3 separate regions of the Homo sapiens genome follow, and all the other regions are linked to region 1. The links are contacts of gene promoters, found by promoter capture Hi-C in human tissues and cell types (Jung and others, 2019). All regions are on one chromosome and are shown on one strand. Each heading gives the region's core, a stretch centred on a gene start or on the middle of the fragment in contact. The rest is flanking DNA. Distances are from core to core; before and after follow the strand shown. Region 1 holds the start of GLRX3 (glutaredoxin 3). Region 2 overlaps EBF3 (EBF transcription factor 3). Region 3 has its middle 25 kb from the start of EBF3.

The links. The method cuts DNA at HindIII sites, captures the fragments that hold promoters and counts their contacts. A contact is called where the count stands out against the background at its distance.
Region 2: a contact is called between a fragment that was not itself captured here and the fragment with the promoter of GLRX3 in region 1, in 1 of the 25 tissues and cell types used here (H1 embryonic stem cells).
Region 3: a contact is called between a fragment that was not itself captured here and the fragment with the promoter of GLRX3 in region 1, in 1 of the 25 tissues and cell types used here (mesendoderm cells).

Annotation. Positions count from the first base shown.
Region 1 is chr10:130,134,897-130,137,734 of GRCh38, forward strand. It overlaps GLRX3 (glutaredoxin 3), which reads left to right and starts at 1,495. Exons shown (of 11, transcript NM_006541.5): 1 at 1,495-1,616. The coding sequence starts at 1,525. It overlaps LOC105378561 (a long non-coding RNA gene), which reads right to left and starts at 1,475. Exons shown (of 6, transcript XR_001747659.2): 1 at 1-1,475. RefSeq lists a silencer at 1,477-2,076 and enhancers at 2,277-2,326, 2,605-2,838. The HindIII fragment of the contact is 8,385 bases long and covers 1-2,838 here.
Region 2 is chr10:129,929,342-129,932,179 of GRCh38, forward strand. The region is part of intron 6 of EBF3 (EBF transcription factor 3); the gene reads right to left. Among named protein-coding and RNA genes, the nearest start is that of EBF3, 34 kb to the right of the region's middle. The HindIII fragment of the contact is 4,939 bases long and covers 1-2,838 here.
Region 3 is chr10:129,988,350-129,991,187 of GRCh38, forward strand. No RefSeq gene overlaps it. Among named protein-coding and RNA genes, the nearest start is that of EBF3, 25 kb to the left of the region's middle. The HindIII fragment of the contact is 5,652 bases long and covers 1-2,838 here.

The sequences.
Region 1 (2,838 bases), core at 245-2,744:
CAGAAGGAGCCCCAAGTGTCTGGGTGGGAGCGATGGTGTTCCCTGAGATGGGAACCAAGAGGAGAGGCACTTTGGAGGGAAGGCCCAGTGTGGTTTGGGGATATCCAATAAAAGATGGCCCCTCCTCAAAGTTAGTGGATGCTAGGCTCTGGGATGCAGGGGAGGGTTCTGGGCTTGCTATTGAGGTTTCCCTGGAGGTTGATGTCACTGGGGGCATGGAGATTACTCAGGCCAGAAGGTGTGTGGGAAGCATGGGGTGTGGGGTACAGAGTACACCACATGGAGAGCCAACATCAGGGGGATTCCCAAGGGAGAAAGACAAGCCAGGGATCATCCAAGGAGGCAAGACGGGAGGAGTGCAGGGATCTGTGGACCCACCCAGCCCCTTCTGTTCTGAGGTTACAATGGGTGATGGCTCTGTGGGGCTGCAATGAGTGGCGGCACGCGCGGAGGGCCAGGGGAGGAGGGACATGCTGTGGGCTCCGGGTTCAGGTCCCAGGACTGAATTGGAAGCACCCTGTCTGTGTTGAAGTTCAAGATCTACCACTTCTGTTCCCAGACCTCCCAGTTCTTCCTCACCTTTATGCAATTTCATTTTTGATAATTTCAGCTTCCTAAATGTACACATCTGACTTCACTTTCACTCACATGTCTCACCCCCACCCCTCCACCGGCCCCTTCTATTACAGACCCAGGAGACACAGGAAGTGCAAGGAAGGTCTGGAGCCCCAAAAGCCAGGAGCCTCAGGAGTCAGGTGTCCTGACAGCCAGGAACCCTGACACCCAGGAGCCCTGGCACCCAGGAACCCCAACAGCCAGAAGCCTCTACCACCAGGAGCCCTGACAGCAAGGAACCCCGACACCCAGGAGCCCCTACTACAGCCAGGAAGCCAGGAACCCTAACACCAGGAGCCCTGACACCCAGTCACCCCGACAGCCAGGAAGCCAACAGCAAGAAGCCTCTACCACCAGGAGCCCTGACAGCAAGGAACCCCGACACCCAGGAGCCCCTGCTATAGCCAGGAACCCTAACACCCAGGAGCCCCTACAGTCAGGAACCCCGACACCCAGGGGTCCCGACAGCCAGGAACCCCGACACCCAGGGGTCCCGACAGCCAGGGGCCATTACGGCCAGGAGCCCCGACAGCCAGGGACCTCGACGGCCAGAATCCACTACATCCAGAAGCCCTTATAACCGGGAACCTCCATAGCCAGGAGCCCCTACAGCCAGGAGCCCCTTCAGCCAGGGAGCCCCGAAAGCCAGGAGCCCCGACAGCCAGGAACCATAACAGCCATGAACCCCGGGAGCCAGGAGGCCCGCAGCGGAGTGCCCAGACTTGGCAGGGTCAGAGCCCCCCAGCGGGATCCAGAGCCCGCCGCCGAGGCCCCTTTTGGGATTTCTCAGGCTCGGCAGCCTCAGCGCAGGCAGGGGCGGGGCTTTCCCTCGCGCAGCCGCTCAGCTCCCCGTGGCCCCGCCCACATCCGGCCGCCGGCACTGGATTGCTTCTGTCTGGCGGCGGCAGCATGGCGGCGGGGGCGGCTGAGGCAGCTGTAGCGGCCGTGGAGGAGGTCGGCTCAGCCGGGCAGTTTGAGGAGCTGCTGCGCCTCAAAGCCAAGTAAGCGGGGCGGCGAGCGGTAGGAGTGAGGAGCCGGAGCGGGAGCGGCCGCGAGACCGGGCCGGTGTGGGGCGGCGGGTGGCCCAGCCTGGCTTCTTGGTGCCCGGCTCCCTTCGGCCTCGGGGGACCGGGCCCGGCGCCACCCGTAGACTCCCCCGAGCCTCCGCGTGAGTGGCCCGAGCCGCAGGTTCCCCGCCCCGGAACAGCGAGCAGGGCGCGAGGCTCGCCTGGAAGCCCCGGCCCCAGCCCTGGCTCCGACCCCGACGGCTGTCCAAGCCCGGGGGACGCGACCTTCCCGGCCTCTGGCCTGGGCGGCCCCGCCGCGGGACGGAGGCGGTGGTGACTCAGCCGTGCCGCAGTGGCGGGGCGGGGGACGGGGCGGCGCCGAGACCCCGGCCCTCCGCGCCACGGAGCGGGACCCACGGCTGCGGGCTCCACCTTTCCTGTGCCCGCCGGGAGGGAGCGGCAGGCTCGGCGTCGGCCCATTGCTCTTCAGCCTCCCTTCAGGAACGCCCCTGTCGCAGGAAGAGCGGCGAGGGAAGGCCCCGTTGCATTAGCTAGGCCTGGCTGCCTTTTGAAGTCAGCCTTTAAAGTTTGTTGGACAGCAGGTAGCCTCAGTCTTCAGACTTAACCTGTTGCCGGAGACAGAGATTTCCTGTTCCATGAACTGGTGTAGTGAGAGTCTGTTCAGATTTGGCGCCGGTGTCCAGGTCTTCAATCCCTGGGAAGACTACAAAAGGAGATCCAGAGGAATGCATAGAAAGCGTTTTCTGGGTGGACTAGAAGCTCTGAACTGCAAGCATGCTTACGAGTAAATGCTTACTAGCGTGCGTGCCTGCAGGGAAAGGTCTGCACGTGGACTCTCCGTGATAATACCACCTCACATTGTAGACTACTCCAAGGACTGAGTTGTTCTCTTAGTTGTATTATTAGCGGTTGTTATGGGAACTCTTATGTCGGATTGCCTGGGATCCAGTCCCACCGCAGCCACTCAGTAGCCATGTAACCCCTGGGCACGTTTCATGCCCAAGCCTCAGTTTCCCGACGGTGACATAGATTAGCACCTGTTAGTACCTCAGGGTTGTTGTGAGGGTTAAATGAGATGACGTATGTAAAATACAAATAATACAATGCCTAGTATGCAGGAAGCACTCAGTAGATGTTGGCACTTAGTATTTCAGTAGGAAGTAGAATGGTTCATGGAATTCACAGGCAAAAAGCT
Region 2 (2,838 bases), core at 243-2,742, 210 kb before region 1:
CTACAGGCACCTGCCACCCACACCCAGGTAATTTTTGTAATTTTTATAGATACAGGGTTTCACCATGTTGCCCAGGTTGGTTTCAAACTCCTGAGCTCAAGCAATCCGCCCACCTCAGCCTCCCAAAGTGCTAGAATTACAGACGTGAGCCACCATGCCCGGCCAGGAGGATGGCCTTCTTAATAATGCCTTGGAAAGCCTTGTTGACACACTGCTGATAGATATTAAGATGGAAATAGAATTTGGAGCAAGGACATTCAAATCAGTAATGCGTCTGGATGGGCAGACCCTAGACCCAGTCCAAGGAGGCCCCCATGTCAGACGTGGAGCCCCATGCTTTGTCCACGAGAGAGGGCCACAGAGCACCATGGTGCCATCAAGGTGGCATCCTCAAAATGCACACACAAGTGATTGTTCTGCACCCAACTCTGAGAGTTACTAAGTTGCCACAGAAATTAGAGACCACAGAACTATGGTGTGATGTTTGTTTTAGGTGTCAACATGACTAGATTAAGGAATACTTAGAGAACTGGTCAAACATCATTTCTGGGTGTGTCTGTGAGGGTGTTTCCAGAGGAGCTTGGGGTGTGAGTCGGAGCACACTGGGTAGGGAAGGTCCACCCTCAATGTGGGTGGGTGCCATCATTGGTTAGGGGCCCGGAGAGAACAAAAACAGAGGAAAGGTGAGTGTCTCCCTCTGTCTGCCGGAGCTGGGACTCTTCCTCCCCTGTCCCTGGACATCAGAACTTCAGGCTCCAGGCCTTTGCACTCTGGGATTCACACCAGCAGTCCCGTAGGTGCTCAGGCCTTCGCCCTCAGATTGAGGATTACACCATCAACTTCTACAGTTCTGAGGCCTTCAGACTTGGCCTGAGCCGTGATACCAGCATCCCAGGGTCTCCAGCTTGCAGGCAATCTGTCATGGGACTTCTCAGCCTCATAATCCTGTGAGCCAATTCCCTTAACAAATCCCCCTCTCATATATCTATATCTATATCTGTCTATATCTATCTCTATATTAACAAATCCCCCTCTCATATACCTATATCTATACCTGTCTATATCTATCTCTATACTAACAAATCCCCCTCTCATATATCTGTATCTATATCTGTCTATGTCTATCTCTATATTAACAAATCCCCCTCTCATATATCTATATCTGTCTATATCTATCTCTATATTAACAAATCCCCCTCTCATATACCTATATCTATACCTGTCTATATCTATCTCTATATTAACAAATCCCCCTCTCATATATCTATATCTATATCTGTCTATATCTATCTCTATATTAACAAATCCCCCTCTCATATATCTATATCTATACCTGTCTATATCTATCTCTATATTAACAAATCCCCCTCTCATATATCTGTATCTGTCTATATCTATCTCTATATTAACAAATCCCCCTCTCATATACCTATATCTATACCTGTCTATATCTATCTCTATATTAACAAATCCCCCTCTCATATATCTATATCTGTATCTGTCTATATCTATCTCTATATTAACAAATCCCCCTCTCATATACCTATATCTGTCTATATCTATCTCTATATTAACAAATCCCCCTCTCATATATCTATATCTATCTTTATATTAACAAATCCCCCTCTCATATATCTATATCTCTACATTAACAAATCCCCCTCTCATATACCTATATCTGTCTATATCTATCTCTATATTAACAAATCCCCCCATATATCTGTATCTATATCTGTCTATATCTATCTCTATATTAACAAATCCCCCTCTCATATACCTATATCTGTATCTGTCTATATCTATCTCTATATCTCCTATTGGTTCTGTCTTTCTGGAAAACTCTGACTAATACCTATGGGTTTGTGGTTTTTTTGCCCTGGACAGGATAGCACTTAAAGAGAAGCAGAAAAGCAATTGAGAACCCAATGTCTTGGGGATACTTTTTGGTGTAAGTGCATTGTAGACACAGCCCTTTAAGGGGTCTAACATTTTTCTGGGATCCAAGTGCATCTTGGTACCATCCCCTCAAGATCAAGAAGAGAGCCTGAGTGTGGCAACAAGACTCTGCCATGCACGCTGAGGATCCTGATGGCCAAAGTGGACTCCAGAATTACACACAATATGCCCCAGAAGTGATGAATGCACTCAGGTCATCTCTGAGAACTGGGCCCTTAAATGACATATAGCAAGTAGCCCCAACAGTTGACTTCCCTGTCTGGGGCCGCGACTGTGAGCGCCCTGAGGGCAAGGCCATGGTCTGATTCTAACTTGCTCTTGATGTCTGCCCTGATGCCTGACACAGGCCAACAATCAGAAGTATGCTCTGAATTTTATAAAACGAAGTCTTCTCATTCTTTCTCTATTGGTCTTGGTAACAGCACCAATTTGAGCCCACTGGTTATTTCAACTTAAACTGTTGCTATCATGAAGCAATGCCTGCTGACCTCAAGCTCCCTGAGCGACCCTGTGTCCTATTCTTCCCAACCCAGTAGACCAGGCAGGAGGGACCCTACAGGGCCTAGCTGGGTATCTGGAGTGCCCTGGGGTCCTGGTACCCAAATGTCTCCATACACACTCCTGGCCCAAGATGTGCAGATGTTTTCAGAGGTGACCAAGCCTCTGAACCTGGCGGTTCTCTGTGGCCACAGGCTATGTCCAGCCACCCTGGAGAGCTAGGCCAGCCAGAGGAAGAAGAGAGGGCTTGGTCCGCTCTCTCCTTATCTCTCCCAGAGGAGCAGAGGTGAGGGCAATGAAGGACAAAGCGGGCCACTCTGGCAGGCAGTTACACACACGGCCAGGGTAGAAGCACCCCCTCCACACCTGGAAGTCATTTGACTT
Region 3 (2,838 bases), core at 240-2,739, 150 kb before region 1:
TCCCATGTTCATGGATGGGTAGAATCAATATTGTGAAAATGACCATACAGCCAAAAGCAATCTATAGATTCAATACAATTACCATCAAAATACCACCATCATTCTTCACAGAACTACACGGAACCAAAAAAGAGCCCACATACCCAAAGCAAGACTAAGCAAAAAGAACAAATCCAGAGGCATCACATTACCTGACCTCAAACTATACTATAAGGCCATAGTCACCAAAACAGCATGGTACTGGTATAAAAATAGTCACATAGACCAGTGGAACAGAATAGAGAACCCAGAAATAAAGCCAAGTATTTACAGCTAATCTTCAACAAAGCAAACAAAAACAAAAGTGGGGAATGGACACTCTATTCAACAAATGGTGCTGGGATAATTGGCAAGTCACATGTAGAAGAATGAAACTGAATCCTCATCTCTCACCTTATACAAAAATCAGCTCAAGATGGATCAAAGACTTAAATCTAAGTTCTGAAACCATAAAAATTCTAGAAAATAACATCAGAAAAACCCTTCTAGACATTGACTTGGGCAAAGACTTCCTGACCAAGAATCCAAAAGCAGGTGCAACAAAAACAAACATAAGAGATGGTATTTAATTAAAAGATAAAGCTTCTGCACAGAAAAAAAAATCAGCAGAGTAAACAGACAACCCACAGAGTGGGAGAAAATCTTCACAATCTATACATCCAACAAATAACTAATATCCAAAATCTTCAAGAAACTCAAACAAATTAGCAAGAAAAACAAACAGTCCCATCAAAAAGTGGGCTAAATACATGAATAGACAATTTTCAAAAGAAGATATACAAATGGCCAACAAGCATATGAAAAAATGCTCAACATCACTAATGATCAGGGAAATGCAAATCAAAACCACAATGTGATACCACCTTACTCCTGCAAGAATGACCATAATAAAAAAATAAAATAAAATAAAATAGATATTGGTGGGGATGTGGTGAAAAGGAAACACTTTTACACTCCTGGTGGGAATGTAAACTAGTACAACCACTATGGAAAATAGTGTGGAGATGCCTTAAATAACTAAAAGTAGAACTACCATTTGATCAGCAATCCCACTACTGGGTATCTACCCACAGGAAAAGAAGTTATTATACAAAAAAGATACTTGCACATGCATGTTTATAGCAGCACAATTCACAATTGCAAAAATATGGAACCAGCCCAAAGGCCCACCAATCAATGAGTGCATAAAAAATTGTGATACACACACACACACACACACACACACACGCACACACCATGGAATACTACTCAGCCATAAGAAGGAACACAATAATGGCATTTGCAGCAATCTGGATAGAATTGGAGACCATTTTTTCTAAGTGAAGTAACTCAGTAATGGAAAACCAAACACTGTATGTTCTCACTCATAGGTGGGAGCTAAGCTATGAGGATACAAAGGCGTAAGAATAATACAATGGACTTTGGGGACTCAGAGGAAATGGTGGGAGTCAGGTGAGGGATAAAAGACTACACGTTTGTTACAGTGTACATTGCTCAGATGATGGGTGCACCAAAATCTCAGAAATCACCACTAAAGAACTTATTCAGGTAACCAAACACCACCTGTTCCCCAAAAACCCATGGAAATAAAAAATAATAATAAATAATAATAATTTAAAAACAGAAAGCAAAATTGGTTATATTAATATCAGAAAAAGTAGGCTTCAGAGCAAAGAAAATTACCAGAGATGAGAGACATTATATAAAGATAAAAGGGTCAATCTACAAGGAAGAAATAGCAATGCTAGATGTGTTTATACTAAAAGACAGAGCTGAAAATTGTGAAGCAAAAACCGATAGAAATAAAAAGATAATTAGACAAATCTACAGTTATATTAGGAGATTTTGACACCCCACTCTCAACAATTGATGGAATGATTATACAGAAAATCAGCTAAGAGAAAGAAGAATTCAACCACACCATCAACAGAATTTGATCCAGTTAGAGTCTAGAGGACATTTATAAAACATTTCACTCAACAAGAGCATTCTATATATTGTTTTTAAATATCTATTGAACATATATCAATCTAGACCAAATAACCTATGCCATAAAACAGACCTCAACAAATTTAAAAGAATCAAAATCATACAAAGTGTCTTCTAGGATCACAACAAAATCAAAATCATATTTAATGGCAGAAAAATCTTCAAATACTTGGAAACTACACAAGGTACTTTTTTTCCCTCCGAGACGGGGTCTTGCTCCGTCACCTAGGCTGGAGTGCGGTGGCGCAATCTCAGCTCACTGCAACCTCCGCCTCCTGGGTTCAAGCAATTCTCCTGCCTCAGCCCCCCTAGTATCTAGGATTATAGGTGCCCACCACCACGCCCAGCTAATTTTTGTATTTTTAGTAGAGACGGAGTTTCACCATGTTGGCCAGGCTGGTCTCAAACTCCTGACCTCGGGTGATCCGCCCGCCTTGTCCTCCCAAAATGCTGGGATTACAGGCATGAGCCACCCCACCTGGCTATACAAGGTATTTCTACTAAGTCCATGAGTCAAAGAGGAGATCTTGAAGGAAATAAAAAACAAATGCATTCAACTGAATGAAGATGAAAATATGACATATCAAAATTTCTAGGATACAGCTAAAGCTGTGTGGAGAGGAAAATTTATAGTACTAAATGCAATGCATACATTTGAAAAGATGCCAGATCAAATGGACATTCATAGATAAAAACATGAACATTAACCTAAGTGTAACACCTTATACAAAAACTAATTCAAAATAGGGGAAAATCTTGAGTACCTGGGGCTAGTCAAAGAGTTCTTGACTTGACACAAAACCACAATCT